2 separate regions of the Homo sapiens genome follow, and region 1 is linked to region 2. Evidence: promoter capture Hi-C in human tissues and cell types (Jung and others, 2019). All regions are on one chromosome and are shown on one strand. Each heading gives the region's core, a stretch centred on a gene start or on the middle of the fragment in contact. The rest is flanking DNA. Distances are from core to core; before and after follow the strand shown. Region 1 overlaps LTBP1 (latent transforming growth factor beta binding protein 1). Region 2 holds the start of TTC27 (tetratricopeptide repeat domain 27).

The links. Contacts are between HindIII fragments. The study calls those that stand out against the background at their distance.
Region 1: a fragment that was not itself captured here is called in contact with the fragment with the promoter of TTC27 in region 2 in 1 of the 25 tissues and cell types used here (bladder).

Annotation. Positions count from the first base shown.
Region 1 is chr2:33,283,858-33,287,954 of GRCh38, forward strand. The region is part of intron 19 of LTBP1 (latent transforming growth factor beta binding protein 1); the gene reads left to right. It also overlaps the pseudogene RNA5SP91. Among named protein-coding and RNA genes, the nearest start is that of MIR4430, 130 kb to the right of the region's middle. The HindIII fragment of the contact is 5,171 bases long and covers 1-4,097 here.
Region 2 is chr2:32,626,618-32,630,575 of GRCh38, forward strand. It overlaps TTC27 (tetratricopeptide repeat domain 27), which reads left to right and starts at 1,433. Exons shown (of 20, transcript NM_017735.5): 1 at 1,433-1,763; 2 at 3,906-3,958. The coding sequence starts at 1,676. LOC124905985 (a long non-coding RNA gene) reads right to left here and starts at 161. Exons shown (of 3, transcript XR_007086273.1): 1 at 16-161. RefSeq lists enhancers at 633-1,294, 1,013-1,072, 1,295-1,954, 1,483-1,542 and a silencer at 1,793-1,922. The HindIII fragment of the contact is 9,918 bases long and covers 1-3,958 here.

The DNA of each region.
Region 1 (4,097 bases), core at 677-3,176, 660 kb after region 2:
GTGTCTTTTTTTCTAACTCTCCTCTCACTGAGTACATGTTTTTACATTGTTATAATCAAACATGTACAATGTTTTATATAACATTTCTTAAATTTCACATTATGCTTATAGTTTTTTTTCTAAACTGGTCTATCTTCACGTTGATTTGACTCTCTTTCTATTGAATGACTTCATTAAGCATTGCTATTCAACCCCTATATTCTGCAGGGATTTTATACCAGTTACACTTTCTGCTTCTTTCACAGACTAAATGATGAACTTGGTGAAACCGTTAATGGCCTCTTTGTATTCATGACATGTAAGCTGGATCTTACTGATTGATGCTTCTCCTTGATTTATAAATTAGAGCAGAAATTGTTTTGGGCAGAAATAGGCAAAATGTTAGCAGGTGTTTTCTGAGGGACTACATTTTTTCCCTAGTGTTTAGCTCAGGTCATACAATCCCTCATCCTCAATAGTTTATTATCCACTTCAAATATCTATCATTTCAGACTGTACCTAACACACATCATCCCTAATGCTTTTTGGCAACTCTTGTTGGCTCTTCTGTTAACGTAGCTTCTTCTTTCAAGTCGTGGATTTCATTCTTCTCTAGAGAGTCACGTTCGTCATTCGGCACTGTATTCCTTGGACCTGACATTCAGCCTGGAGTTGCTGCCCACTCGATCCCCACCTTTAATGACTATTTCATCACTCTGGGTTCTGGCCAGTTCCAAATGGCTATTTCAACCAAGTCCTTTCTTAAGGGAAGCCACCCTGTCAGGTACTCAATTTACAGGTTCTTCTTGGCTTGTGGAGATCTGGCCTGATTGAAACCCGATGAGAGCCATCCCCCAAGGAAACTCTCTAATATTTAATTATTTAAAGATACATTTGATATTGCTAATGTAGAGATCTTAGTTCCCTGAATTTAGACAGAGTTTGGGCTACATGACCTCTCTGAAGCTTAGTTTTATTATCTGTAAAATGGGGATTGAAATACTTGCTGTTTAAGCTTTCTTGCCAGAATGAAGTAAGCAATATGAAGCACCTAGTAGGCATCTGACATATGGTGGAACCCCATCCATGCTACAACCCTTTTTCCCCAACTATTACCCTCCTCTATACTGCTCTTGTCCTCAAACATAAGAGATGCAGTAATAACTGGTACTTGGTAAAGTAAGTTATGTATCACATTCTTTTTTTTTTTTTTTTTTTTTCTGAGATGGAGTCTCACTCTTGTCGCCCAGGCTGGAGTGCAATGGCGTGATCTCGGCTCACTGCAACCTCCGCCTCCAGGGTTCAAGTGATTCTCCTGCGTCAGCCTCCCGAGTAGCTGGGATTACAGGTGCCCGCCACCACGCTTGGCTAATTTTTGTATTTTTAGTAGAGATGGGGTTTCACCATGTTGGCCAGGCTAGCCTCGAACTCCTGACCTCAGGTGATCCACCCATCTCAGTCCCCGAAAGTGCTGGGATTACAGGGGTAAGCCACCGTGCCCGGGTCACATTCTTCTATATAACTATATTCTCTTTGGCTTTTTGAAGCTCATGTCATATAGTTTTTTAATTCTTCTTATGTCATTGGAGCATTCTCTTTTCTTTCTTTCTTTTTCTTTTTTTTTTTTTTTGAGACGGAGTCTCCCTCTGTTGCCCAGGCTGGAGTGCAATGGCGCGATCTCGGCTCACTGCAACCTCCACCTCCCGGGTTCAAGCAGTTCTCCTGCCTCAGTCTCCTGAGTTGCTGGGATTACAGCTGCATGCCATTATGCCCGGCTAATTTTTGTATTTTTAGTAGAGGTGGGGTTTCACCATGTTGGTCAGGCTGTTCTAGAACTCCTGACCTTGTGATCCACCTTCCTCAGACTCCCAAAGTGCTGGGATTACAGGCGTGAGCCACCGCACCTGGCCTTTTGGAGCATTCTTTTATGAATGTAAATAATTTTGTGGTTCCTGTTCAATATCTCCCATCCAAATACTAACTGGGCCCACCCTGCTTAGCTTCCAAGGTCAGACTAGATCGGGCACGTTCAGGGTGATATGTCTGTTGACTCCTTCCAACTTCTTAGTGTTCTTACTTAGCTGGAATATACTTCTTGGGAGCCATGATACTTCTCTGTAGGGTCATTAGTGATTCCTAACAAATGTTCAGGCATCTATAATAATGCTGCTATTTCCATTCCTGTACTTTATTGTCTCTGCTCACCTTCACAAGGCAGAATATGCCACCTATTGGATATATGCAGCTAGCCTTTTGGGGGTTGTCTTGCTTTGTAGTTCAGTTTGTGATAGAACTTGAGACCCGGTAACACAAAATTCTGAGATTTTGTCAGTGTAATCTTTCTTTTTTAACCCCTGATTAAGTTGAGAATGACTTTCTGACTCCCATTTAAACTCTGTGAATGTAGGTCTTGGGTATTTGAAGAATTTAGTATCATTCAGTCTACTTGACAACTGATTAGCTACAGTCTTAACCAAGACCTGGCACAGAGAACTTGAAGAATAAACTTGGACAGAAAACATGGAGAACTCATTGTTCTAGAAGTTCTTTTCACACTAGGCTTTATTTTCAGATTTGAAGATTCAGTGTTAACTTTCATGGCTTATATGAATATTCATAGACTAATCCAAAATTGAAGACTTGGTACAGCAGATATTTGTTTTATAGAAGATTGCAACTGAGTACAGCATGTACCTTTTTCATATTTTATGTGCAAACATTAGCTTTATCCCTACATTATTATATGCTAAAGGATGCTTCTAATCAATCACTAAGCTATTTATTGAGCTGTTGTCTGTGTATCTATATGCCAGAGAAGATTGGCAGTTATAAAAACACCCACCCAAATGTCCAACAATGATAGACTGGATTAAGAAAACGTGGCACGTATACACCATGGAATACTATGCAGCCATAAAAAAATGATGAGTTCATGTCCTTTGTAGGGACAGGGATGAAGCTGGAAACCATCATTCTCAGCAAACTATCGCAAGGACAAAAAACCAAACACCGCATGTTCTCACTCATAGGTGGGAATTGAACAATGAGAACACATGGACACAGGAAGGGGAACATCACACACCAGGACCTGTTGTGGGGTGAGGGGAGGGGGAAGAGATAGCATTAGGAGATATACCTAATGTTAAATGAAGAGTTAATGGGTGCAGCACACCAACATGGCACATGTATACATATGTAACAAACCTGCACGTTGTGCACATGTACCCTAAAACTTAAAAGTATAATAAAAATAAAATAAAAACAACAACAACAACAACAACAACAACTTTTGAAAGCAGGCAGCATGGTTTGTGGGAACATTAATTATTATAACAAAATCCTTCTCATTGTATAGTTTATGAAGGTTTTGACATGATGGCATCATTTGATCCTCACAGTAGTCATCTCTGTAGTACAAGTGTGGAAATTGATTCCCAAACAAGTGAATGGGCTAACTAAAGGTTATAGGTAATAAATGTCAGAACTAGGATGTGACCTCTGATCTTTTATCTCTAAATCCAGTGTTTTGTTCTGTACAATGTCTCATGTACCCTTCGTGTACACGTAAGAAAACTAAAGAACAAAACAATATAATGAAGACAATAAGGAAAATAAAAGAGCATAGAAAGGAGAAAGCCACATGGGCTGGAATCATCCCTTGCAAGCAGCAGTAACAATGGCTTGAGGATTCTAGAGTTTGAGACAGCAAGTCTGCACCATATGTAGTGGCAGTTGAGTTTTGCTGAAAGATAAAATGCTCCTTTGGAAAGGTGAGGTAGGAAGCCAATAATTTGGTGGGATTAGTGATTGGATTTTTCTGAGATCATCCTTGGCTCTTTATGTAGGATGTGCATAGCATTCATTGGTTCTTCTCCAGTTCTGCAAAGCCGTGATGATTCTTTGAGGATTATGTAACAAATGTTTGTCAGCAGCTCTGCTGCTACTACCACATATTTTAACTTCATCAGAATTGACAGAGGGGGTGTGAGATTCTGAGGATCTACTATACCTCAAATGCAGTTGAGGTGGTTTCATCACACTGGCTGGACCAACATCTGTCTCTCATTTTGCCATGCTTGCTTTTCTGCCAAATATGTTCTTCCATCTTCTTTAATATA
Region 2 (3,958 bases), core at 183-2,682:
GAGATGGGGTTTCACCTTGTTAGGCAGGATGGTCTCCATCTCCTGACCTCATGATCCGCCCGCCTCGGCCTCCCAAAGTGCTGAGATTACAGGCGTGAGCCACTGCGCCCGGCCTGAAAAACAGTTTTTAATTACTTCTCAGTGGGAGGACATTTTAGGGCATCCGCTCTTCTCCAATCACAGTCAGGTCCGGCTTCCTTTGGTATCTGATGGCAATGGCTGAAATGAGCTGAGCTGAGTTCCTCTCCCTTCACATTCTGGAGTGGCTCTTTACTGAGTAAGAAAGTGAATTAACATTTATTTAGCTTCTTCCTTGGAGCTGGGTACCGGGTCAGCCTCTTTTCAGAGAGCTTTTGCTCTTGTGGTCAGAGTTACCCTGCAGTTTTCTCCTGGCTCTTACATGACATATCTCAGTACAGGTGTCAAGCCAATGGGACAAAGCCATAGTCCTGTTTTCCTTCCCTCCTTCCCTCCCTCCCTCCCTTCCTTCCTTCTTCCCTCCCTCCCTCCCTCTTTCCTATTGCCCAGGCTGGAGTGCAGTGGCACCATCTCAGCTCACTGAAACCTCCGCCTCCCGGGTTCAAGCAATTCCCCCGCCTCACCGTCCCGAGTAGCTGGGTTTACAGGGGTGCCCCACTACGTCCGGCTAATTTTTGTATTTTTAGTAGAGACGGGTTTCACCATATTGGCCAGGCTGGTCTCGAACTCCTGACCTCAGGTGATCCATCCGCTTCATCCTCCCAAAGTGCTGAGATTACAGGCGTGAGCTACCGCGCCCGCCCTCTAACTGTTTCTTTGGAGTGCTGCTAGGAAGATTCAAAGAAGTGCAAATAAGGTACCAGCGGAGGCTGGTTTGTCTCCTTGCAATTTCTTTGTGATCACCCCTGGGATCACTCTTCTACAGCGTTCCGACAGTGTTCCAAAAACTTCCCTGCACCAGCGGCAGGGGCAGATTTCCCACCCGGCCATGATTCATGTAGAGCAGTGTCAAAACCAGATCCTTTCCTTACACGCTCATTCGCCGAAAGACCCATGCTATGCTGACGGGGTTCCAACCTGGGCTTCACCGACTCCACGTCAGAGGGTCTGTGATTCCCTGAGAGGGTACCCTTAGGCTGAGAGCAAGGGCCCACCTGCACTCTGCGCGAAGGACTGTGGTTTTCATCGGGTTGTCGAGAGCGTTCTAACCCAAAATGCTTTAAGAATCACAACTCTAGCCCTTCTAATCAAACTGCTTTGGCCAAGACGTCCGTTTTGAGTTGCATTTGAACCCTAGCCCTCGGTGGGAGGCACACTCACTTCCACGTTCACAGTTCTTGGAAGCGGTCCCACTGGGGGCGGGGCTGAGCGCGACCGCGCCCTCAACTCCCCCTATTGCCCGCCCCGGGGTGGGGCATAACCACCCAACAGGCTCCTTACTCAAGCTCGGGTTCTTCTCCTAGGCGGAAGCCAGACCAGAGAGCGTGCGTGTTTTTCCCAGGGTGCCCCGCGCTGCTGTTATGGCCGCCTCCTTGAGGTAGTATCCGCACATGGAATTCTAGGGCCGCAGGTGTATTTACGGTAACTGTCGCCACTAGATTTCAGCGCCTTTGGACTCTCCTGTTTTCACTTTCTTTTGTTGACTCCCGTGTGGCCCTCGTGGGAGCCTGTTTTGGCTGCAGCGGTGTCTGGGGTGATGTGGACCCCGGAGCTGGCAATTCTGAGGGGATTCCCCACTGAGGCTGAGCGGCAGCAATGGAAACAGGAGGGGGTCGTCGGTTCAGGTGAGAGGCGCACCTACCGGGCCTTAGGCTATCGTGGGAACTGTGAGGAAAAGGGATGGCAGCGACTGATTCTCATCCCTCCCTTCATTTTTCCCTAACACAGTCTAGCTGATTCCTTGAGGCTTTGGGTCGTTTAGTCTTTGACATGGTGGGCGTGGTCCTCACTTTCTTTGCGCAAAACTTCTTACCGCCCAGGTTCAGTAATAATGACAATGGCAATGTCAGTTATTTTTCTAAGCCCTTAACATGTACTCAGTCATTTAATGCTTATAGTAGATACTTAAGGTAGATTCAATTTTTAATCCCATTTTGCGGTGAAGATCTGTAAATACAGTTGGGTTAAGTAATTTTATTTTATCTATTTATTTATTTATTTATTTATTTATTTATTTATTTATTGAGACGGAGTTTTGCTTTTTGCCCAGGCTGGAGTGCAATGGCGCGATCTCGGCTCGCTGCAACCTCCGCCTCCCGGGTTCAAGTGATTCTCCTGCCTCAGCCTCCAGGGTAGCTGGGATTACAGGCATGCGCCACCACGCCCGGCTAATTTTGTATTTTTAGTAGAGTCGAGGTTTCACCATGTTGGCCTAGCTGGTCTGGAACTCCTGACCTCAGATGATTCGCCTGCCTCAGCCTCCCAAAGTGCTGGGATTACAGGCCTGAGCCACCGCGCCCGGGTCTGGTTAAGTAATTTATTTAAGGTCACACTGTTGGTAAGCAGAGGAGCTAAAATGAGGCAGCAAAGTTGTTTTTTTGGGGGGATGGAGTCTCCCTCTTGTTGCTCTGGCTGGAGTGCACTGGTGCCATCTCGGCTCACTGCAACCTCCGCTTCCCCGGTTCAAGCGATTCTCCTGCTTCAGCCTCCAAAGTAGCTGGGACTACAGGCATGCACCACCATGCCCGGCTAATTTTGTGTTTTTAGTAGAGACGGCTTTCATCATGTTGGTCAGGCTGGTCTGGAACTCCTGACCTCAGGTGATCCACCCGCCTCGGCCTCCCAAAGTGCTGGGATTACAGCCATGAGCCACCATGCACGGCCTAGGCGGCAATGATTTATTTTTTTTATTTTTTTGAGACAGAGTCTCGCTCTGTCGCCTAGGCTGGAGTGCAGTGGCGCGATCTCGGCTCACTGCAAGCTCCACCTCCCGGGTTCACGCCATTCTCCTGCCTCAGCCTCCCGAGTAGCTGGGACTAAAGGCGCCTGCCACCACGACCAGCTAATTTTTTTTTTTGTATTTTTAGTAGAGACGGGGTTTCACCGTGTTAGCCAGGATGGTCTCGATCTCCTGACGTCGTGATCCACCCACCTCGGCCTCCCAAAGTGCTGGGATTACAGGCATGAGCCACCGCGCCCAGCCTAGGAGGCAAAGATTAATTCTTGTGAGCAATGAATATTTACCAGAGAGATAAAGAGTTAAAAGGCACATGCACTGGCACATCTGGTTGTGGGATTTAGGCTGGACCCAAAAGAGTAATAATGAACAGTGTAGTGTGTAAGTACTCTGTGTGTATGTGTGTGTGTGTGGGCACTTGTGTGACACAGTAGGTGCTTCCAGTGACAGGAAGTTTGAACTTTGGTGGCCTGGAAAACTTTCCTAGAAGAAGTTAGACTTGAGCTGATTTTGGATTAAAGGGTAAGACTAACAAGTGGAGAAGAGTTCAACAGGCGATATCACAAGTGCAAAGTGTGGAGGCAGGAATACGCATGGGACATTAGGGAAACAATGAGTAAACCAGCGCTCTTGGAGTGACTTTTCAAGAAGAGAAAATAATGGAGGTAGAAAGAACCAGATTGTGAAAAGTTTTAGAACCTTGACTAAGGAAACTTTTGTATTGTCAGTAGGAATCTTTGTGAATTTCCCAGCAAAAGACTAAATACCTATTAATGAGGAATATTATTTCTGGGGCTGACTTCCACTTTGGGGCTCATAGTCAGTATGAGTGAGCTGCTAATTCTAGGAGAGAGAATGTTTGTAGAATGATGGAAATTTACTGAGTGCCTTGTGACTGACATACAGTAATCATTCTAAGTCTATAGATTGTTTTTGCACACTAAAATGGTAGATTTACCTAATAGTGTTATCCTTTACGGTATGAAAAATAATTTTTTTTGGATTACCGCACTAATTTTTTATATTACAGAGAGTGGATCTTTCCTACAATTGCTACTGGAAGGGAACTATGAAGCCATATTC